Linked DNA regions of Homo sapiens: region 1 is linked to region 2. The links are contacts of gene promoters, found by promoter capture Hi-C in blood cells and fetal thymus (Javierre and others, 2016). All regions are on one chromosome and are shown on one strand. The core of a region is centred on a gene start or on the middle of the fragment in contact, and the rest is flanking DNA. Distances in the headings are between cores, read along the strand shown. Region 1 has its middle 1.8 kb from the start of CC2D1B. Region 2 holds the start of CZIB-DT (CZIB divergent transcript).

The links. Contacts are between HindIII fragments. The CHiCAGO score rates a contact against its expected background, and 5 or more counts as called.
Region 1: a fragment that was not itself captured here is called in contact with the fragment with the promoter of CZIB-DT in region 2 in 2 of 17 cell types (fetal thymus and monocytes); the score reaches 5.6 in fetal thymus.

What each region holds. Positions count from the first base shown.
Region 1 is chr1:52,366,384-52,369,680 of GRCh38, reverse strand. It overlaps the pseudogene PLA2G12AP1. Among named protein-coding and RNA genes, the nearest start is that of CC2D1B, 1.8 kb to the right of the region's middle. RefSeq lists silencers at 875-954, 1,015-1,114, 3,097-3,297 and an enhancer at 1,235-1,284. The HindIII fragment of the contact is 2,779 bases long and covers 101-2,879 here.
Region 2 is chr1:53,218,908-53,222,627 of GRCh38, reverse strand. CZIB-DT (CZIB divergent transcript) reads right to left here and starts at 2,268. Exons shown (of 1, transcript NR_185918.1): 1 at 1-2,268. It overlaps CZIB (CXXC motif containing zinc binding protein), which reads left to right and starts at 1,994. Exons shown (of 8, transcript NM_017887.3): 1 at 1,994-2,058; 2 at 2,284-2,367; 3 at 3,705-3,720. The coding sequence starts at 2,053. RefSeq lists silencers at 1,663-1,722, 1,853-2,222 and an enhancer at 2,092-2,593. The HindIII fragment of the contact is 4,059 bases long and covers 1-2,560 here.

The sequences.
Region 1 (3,297 bases), core at 241-2,740, 850 kb after region 2:
TAAGCCATTGGGAAAGTGACTTATTTTCATGCTATGGAATCATAACAGAAATGAAAATCAGCTAACTAGATACAGTATACATGTCAATTTGAGTGAAGCTTACAAACAGGGTTGAGTAGAAAAAGGTTGAAGAATTACACTGTATGTAACCAATGATATAATTTTTAAAAGCTGGCAAAAAAAATACTATGTATTGCTTAAGGATACCTACACAGAAATAGAAATGCTCAGGAATAATAAACACTAAATTTAGGATAATGGGTACATCTTTGGGAAAGGGAGGTGTTGCAATATGGGAGATGTACAGGTAGCTCCAACTATGTTTGTTTTTCTTTTTTCACAAAAATCAGATAGTTTTATGTTGTAAAAACATTAGTTATTTGTCAAAGGTTATGTTCTTCCGTCTTCATCTGTCACCAGCTGTCAGCATCTCCTTTAAATATCGGTTTTTTCTTCATAATGACACCTGCATGTGGCTCGTTGGCTGTCCAGATATGGTTTACAACCTAAATGTATAACACTGTCAAACAAGAGCTCCATTGTTGTTTCACATGCCTGAACATGCTAAGTTAGTCCTAGTGTTTTCTGTACTTCTCGGCAGATCTTGGAGAGGCAATACTGGAATTTCTCATCACAGTCATTCTTGCTTTTGCCACAGTTCTCATAGCACCTGTCGTGTTAGTTGCAACACTTTGTCAGGGAAGGGATACCAATGTTAAGATGAACGCCAAACAGTGGAGAGCCACATCCATTCGGTGGGGAGGGTTTATAACCATAACGTGGGAAAGGCTTAGATCCGTCACTGCATTTATACTGGCAGAGACCGTCCTCGCCTCCCAGGAGGTCCAAGGCGGCGTTCAGGTACGTGTCTATCTTATGAACGCCGTTCCGGATGGTCTTCAGGGTGGCCCTCCAGTCGGTGGTCTAGGCCTGCTCCAGGCACCTGATAACAGCGGCCATGAGGAGGAGCAGGAGGGTGAGCGCGGGGCGCGGGAGAAGGGCCAACCGCGCAGCGCCGGGCTCTACGGGTCCCCGAGCCGCGGCGGGGGGCGCGTCCCCAAAGAGCCCCCGGGAAGCGCTAGGCAGCGGCGCGGGCCCCGGGGTTGCAGCCGCCAGCTCCATAACCACGCCTCCTTCCCGGCTGGCAGGCAGGGCCTCGCTGGCTTTACGTGAACCGCCTCGGGGAGGCAGCGCGGTCGCGGGGACGCGCCCGCTCACCTGCTTTTTTTTTTCCCTTAAACTGGTAATAGATGTCCATGTAGTTAATTCACACAACAAGGAACTATTGAGTGCCTACTATGTACCATGCACTGCTGTAGACACGAGACACTTGGAGAAGCAATAAAAAAATTTCTCCTTCTGGAGCTTGCATTCTAGTAAATGTTAAATATTGTGTATCTTTGTTTATATCTTAAATGTTTCATTATAAAAATTTTTAAATAATTTTAAAAGGAATGAGAAATATGGATGTGAAATCTCAATTTAAATATGGTAATGGGCAGGGCATGGTGGCTCACGCCTGTAATCCCAGCACTTTGGGAGGCTGATGTGGGTTGATCCCCTGAGCTCAGGAGTTTGAGATCAGCCTGGGCACATAGCAAAAACATGTTTCTACAAAAAAAAAAAAAAAAATGCTGGGCATGGTGGCACGTGCCTGTGGTCCCAGCTACTCAAGAGGCTGAGGTGAGAGGATTGCTTGAGCCTGGGAGGTGCAGGTTGCAGTGAGTGGAGATCGCACCACTGCACTCTAGCCTGGGTGACAGAATGAGATCCTGTCTCAAAAAAAAAAAAAAGAAAAAAAGTAAGCAATCAGGAGATGGAAAAGCCCTTTGTCCAAGTAAACTGGGAGATCGCTAACTAGAAAACATAATTTAAAAGTTCAAGGCATAGGCAGGAGAGGAGATGGCAATGTTTTAGACAGAAGAAACTAATCCAGCAGTTTAACTTTAAAATACATTTTAAAACTTTTTTTCCTTTCTCTTGGGTTTCAAGATACAACCTTGAAGCAAACTGCAAAAGCCTTTTCCCTTAGCTGTAAAATAGACCCCATATCCCTCCCTTTCTCACTGTATATACTCCCTTCACATTTATCTTACTGTATGCTAGTATTTAATTATCTGCCTTCTGAGAAGTTCCAAGGGCTAATCTTGAGACAGACAAACCAAGCCTGGAGACACAGCTGCAAAATTCCAAAGATTACTTCAAGGTGGCTAGTCAACAGCGGGGCCATTGTGGAGATGAGACCAGCCCACGCTCCAGGTAGGCTGGGACCCAAGATAGCCACCAGAACAAGACACACAGACGTTGTACTCTGTACAATTCTTGCATGCTTCCCATATCAAATTTTCCTTTTAAGCCGTTCTCTTTCCCCCCAAAATCGAAGTGGTTACTTTAGATGGGAATCTGGCCACTTCCCCATTACTCCGCTCTCGGTTTTTTTGTTTGTTTTAGTTTGAGACAGGGTCTCACCTTGTCACCCGGGTTGGAGTGCAGTTGACAGCTCATTGCAGCTTGGACCTCCGGGGCCACAGCGATTCTCCTGCCTCGGCCTCTCAGTAGGTAGGACTACAGGCACGCACCACCACACCCGGCTAATATTTGTAATTTTTTGTAGAGACAGGGTTTCGCCATGTTGCCCAGGCTGGTCTCGGACTCCTGAGCTCAATCTCTTGTTAACTGGACTCTGCAAGCCGCAGGGAGAAACGTGCTTTCCTTAGAAAACTAGACTAGAGCATATTTACTGATGCTAAAGAGGTTGGTTTTGTATTTCCCTGGGCAAATAATTCTCTCTGAGCCTCCGTTTCTTCTAGAGATGATGTCCATCTTGCAGGATTGAGAACTGGTATAAGCTCCATTATGAAAAGTGACTGACACAAGCTTGGCAGAAAACGGGTATACTCCGTTTCTCTCCTTAATATCCTCCATGCCATTTGATTGCACAGCAGGGTAGGCGAGTGAGAACTTAGTGTTAGACTCTGTAAAGTATTTAAGATGTGCAGCGAGCTCTGCCTGTCTGAAGTTTTCAACGGACCGGAAAAGGATACTTTCAGGTGCTGAATTATTAAGAAACATATGGTGGGCCCCATTTCCATTTCCCCAGGCTTAAAGGACATGGACAAGCAGGTGAGCCCCGCCCCTGTCTCTCTTCCAGGGCGGAGCTTGGGTAGGCCCCGCCCTCTTGCTCGGTGGGGCGGGGCGAGGGCTGGAGGCGGGGTAGGTCCAGCGAGCGAGCGAGCGCCCAGCGCCTCGGGCTGAGTGAGGGAGGAGGTTCGGTGGAGAGGCTGCAAGTGGGCGAGG
Region 2 (3,720 bases), core at 1,019-3,518:
GAAGGCACTGGGTCACACCTGAAGGCAGCACAGTACTGGGCCTCACCCAGTACTGTGGCTATTACAAATGTTTATTCAAGGCCCAACAGCTCTTTAGTCAGCAGGTGATGAATCCTGCCAGGACTGGGTCCTTTCCTTCAAAGCAGCGGGTTCCCTTCTGGCCCATGGTAGCTCTAGAAATATCTGGGAGATAGAGCCTGGCAAGGGGGCTTCGGGACTCTGCGTGGTGTTTTATTCTACTGTGGCTGGGATGGTATCCAAGCTGTAAGACAAAGTCCTCTTTACTTTCCCCTCTCCTTTCCTCTAAGGGAAAGGAGTCTCTCCTGGAGCCGTGAGCTGTGCTGCCTGGGGTTGGGGGACTGGTGACATAAACACTCCTTTGGCTCCCCAACTGGTATCTCACTAGGCTGTGTGCACCCCAAGTCCACGGGCTCTGAGCTCAGCACAGCACCAGGACTTGCCCAGGAATTGCAGTCTTTGTGGCCTAGACTGCCTTTCGAATTTATTTAGGACCCTGAAGCACTTTAGCCAGTGGTGGTGGGGCTCGCCAGAACCTGACCACTGGGATGGATGATTCCCCTCTGGCTAGGGTTTCTCTAAGTGCTTCCTCTGTGGGCACTAGCTGAATTCTGCCCTGAGTTGCTTTCCACTGTGACAGGGCAAAACTCAGTTCCAATGCAAAGTCCCATAAGCACACAGATTCTCTCTCTATGCCAGGCAGCCAGGTGCTGCCAGAGGATGAGGGAGGGGTGGTGGTAGCAATTCAAGACTGTCTTTCCTACCCTCTTCATTGCCTTGTTCCTTTTTTTTTCTTCTTTTATGAGATAGAGTCTCACTCTGTCACCCAGGCTAGAGTGCAATGGCATGATCTCAGCTCACTACAACCTCCACCTCCCGGGTTCAAACAATTCTCCTGCCTTAGCCTCCGGAGTAGCTGGGACTACAGGTGTGCACTGCCATACTCGGCTGATTTTTGTATTTTTAGTAGAGACAGGGTTTCACTATGTTGGCCAGCTAGGTCTCAAACTCCTGACCTCAGGTGGTCTGCCCGCCTCAGCCTCCCAAAGCACTGGGATTACAGGTGTGAGCCACCGCACCCAGCCATTGCCTTATATCTTGATGTGACGTTACAACCAGCTACTGTGATTGCTACCTGAGTTTTGGTTCTCATGAAGGTGCTTTCTTGTGTGGATAGTTGTTCAGTTTGGTGTTCCTGCCAGGGAAGAGGAGGAGGAGGATCACTGGAGGGTTCTATTTGGCTATCTTGCCCCACCTCCTAGAAGAGTCTTGAATGTGCTGTTCCTTTTACCGTTAATCTCCACAGCTCCTGCATGGTCTCAGATGTAGCCTGGACAGGAGGCCAGGTAAAATAAAGTTCAATAAACGTTATGAGAGAAGGATAAGCCAGGTGGGCTCCCAAAAAAGAGCCAGCTGAAGGGGAATGTCCAGTCGCAAGGACCACAGTGAGAAGGATGTGGACACAGGGCAAACTCTGGAGAAGGGCCTAGAAACCAGGTCTCTTGGGTGAAACAGGAAAGGGCAGTTTGAAGAAAGGCATCATCCCCAAATCTGATAAACCAATACATTCTACTTTTTAAAGCGTATTGGTTTATCTTTATTTGGCAGTCTTGGAACTCTTCCTTTTGTAGCTTTTCCCCTGGGCAGAGGGAGCTGACGTGATCTGAGAAGTTCCAGGGCAGGCAGAGTAGTGAAGAGCCTGGAAAGAACTGAGGGTCAGGAACTGTCCTGTTCGCTTAAAGCAGGCACAAAATTGGCGTTCAGTAACTGTCTGTGGCACCACCGAATCCTGGAGTCAGGCTTCCGCTGGCCTGAGCACAGGTTGCTCGCGGACCTGGCTGACCTCCACTGGCCCCAGATCCCCAGATGCGAAAAGCCCAGTGGGCCAGGCGAGCAGCGGCGCGCAGAAGTCCCTGCCCCGCGGCCCGGCCCCGGCCCCGCCCTACTGAGGGTGCGCAGACGGCACCCGCCTTTTACGACGCGCCGGAAAGCAACGGCAAGGGCCGCAGCCAGCACCGGGCGGAGAGGGCTACCATGGGGGTGAGGGGAGGCCGCCCGCCGCGGGGACACGGAGGGGAGGTGGCGAGGGTCTGGGAGGCAACAGCTCGCGCCAGGAGGAGATGAAGCGAGTGGGTGCGCGCTGAAGGAGCAGGAGGCAGAAGGAGTGTCTCCCTGTGGCACCCACGGCTGGGAATGCGGGAGGGTCGGGCAGGCGTGGGGCTGCGCAGGCACGGCTGACGCAGTCGCTCTGGCCCTCCCCCTCAGAAAATCGCGCTGCAACTCAAAGCCACGCTGGAGAACATCACCAACCTCCGGCCCGTGGGCGAGGACTTCCGGTGGTACCTGAAGGTGCGGCCGGGGCGGGGCCCGGGGAGAGGAGGCCCGTCCTGATCTCAGTGCTGAACCGGAGCCTTCTCTCCGGCAGTATGAGAAAATATTTAACCAGGCACATTAAGTGTTCGGGGTTTTCCTAGTTAGAATTTTACGTTTGCTTTCTATTAAAGTGTATTGGTTTATCTCTAATTGGCAGTCTTGGAAAGCTTCATTTTGTAGTTCTTCCCTGTGTTAAATATTTCGTGGTCTGTAAATGGACACTAAACGAAATGCTACTTGAAGGGACGCTTGTGATTATTTAATAAGGTGAATAGTTCGCCTTTCGTTTATTGATTTGGTTTTCTTTATTGTGAAATAGTTTAATTTTGTGCGTAATCCACCCTTCCTTAGCCCTCCCACACTGGTAAAGCTGGTACCCTAGTGGCATGGTCTACAGAGGCCTCCCCTTCCCCAGCAGTTCGAGGCTCTTCACTCTTCCAGATCCCAGAGCTTCTGCTCTGTTTTACTCCTGGTCAAAAATCCCAGCATCCTTCTGTACCTCTCAAAAGCCCTGTTTTTCGGGAAGCTGCCTCCGGACTACTTTTGTTTCCCAGGATTTTGAAGCCTGAATACCAGGGCTTACTTGGGAGAATCTGTTCTTTGGCTTGAAGAAGCGGAATCGAGTGAAGGAGACAGAAAAATAGAGTAACAATAGAGTGATAAGTGCTTATACCAGTGACATACAGGGCCTGTGGGAACATAAAGCTAACCAAGCAGAGTGGGTCGGGGGCCTGCTGAGGCCATTTCTCTTTTTTTTTCTTAATTGACACAGAATTGTACATATTTATGGGGTATATAGTGATGTTCCGATAAATGTAATGTATTGTGATCAGATCAAGGTAGTTAGCATATTCACCTCAAACGTGTATCATTTCTTTGTGTTGGGAGCATTTAATATCCTAGCTATTTGAAACTATATATTATTGTCAGCTATAGTCATCCTACAGTGCTATAGAACACTAGAACTTATTCCTCCCATATAGCTGTAATTTTGTATCTTCTAACAAATCTCTCCATATTCCCCCCCCTCACCTCCGCTGAAACCATTTCTGCACCACAGGTGCCTTGAATCCCCGGCCACACTGAGCACTTCATAGAGGAGGGTGGGCACGCCGGCATAGGAAACAGCCTTACCTATCCTTTGCCCAGAGATAGTTCTAGTTTTGTCCTTGTTGGGGCAGGTGTTAGGGATGAAGTGAGATTGCCATCAAGAAGGTAGATCATGAGCCTGCCCACCTCCCACTGTTCTTACCCTTTCCTTGGTGTCTGTGCAGCAGAGCCAGCTGCTTTACTAACATTCTTTTTCCCCAAAGATGAAATGTGGCAACT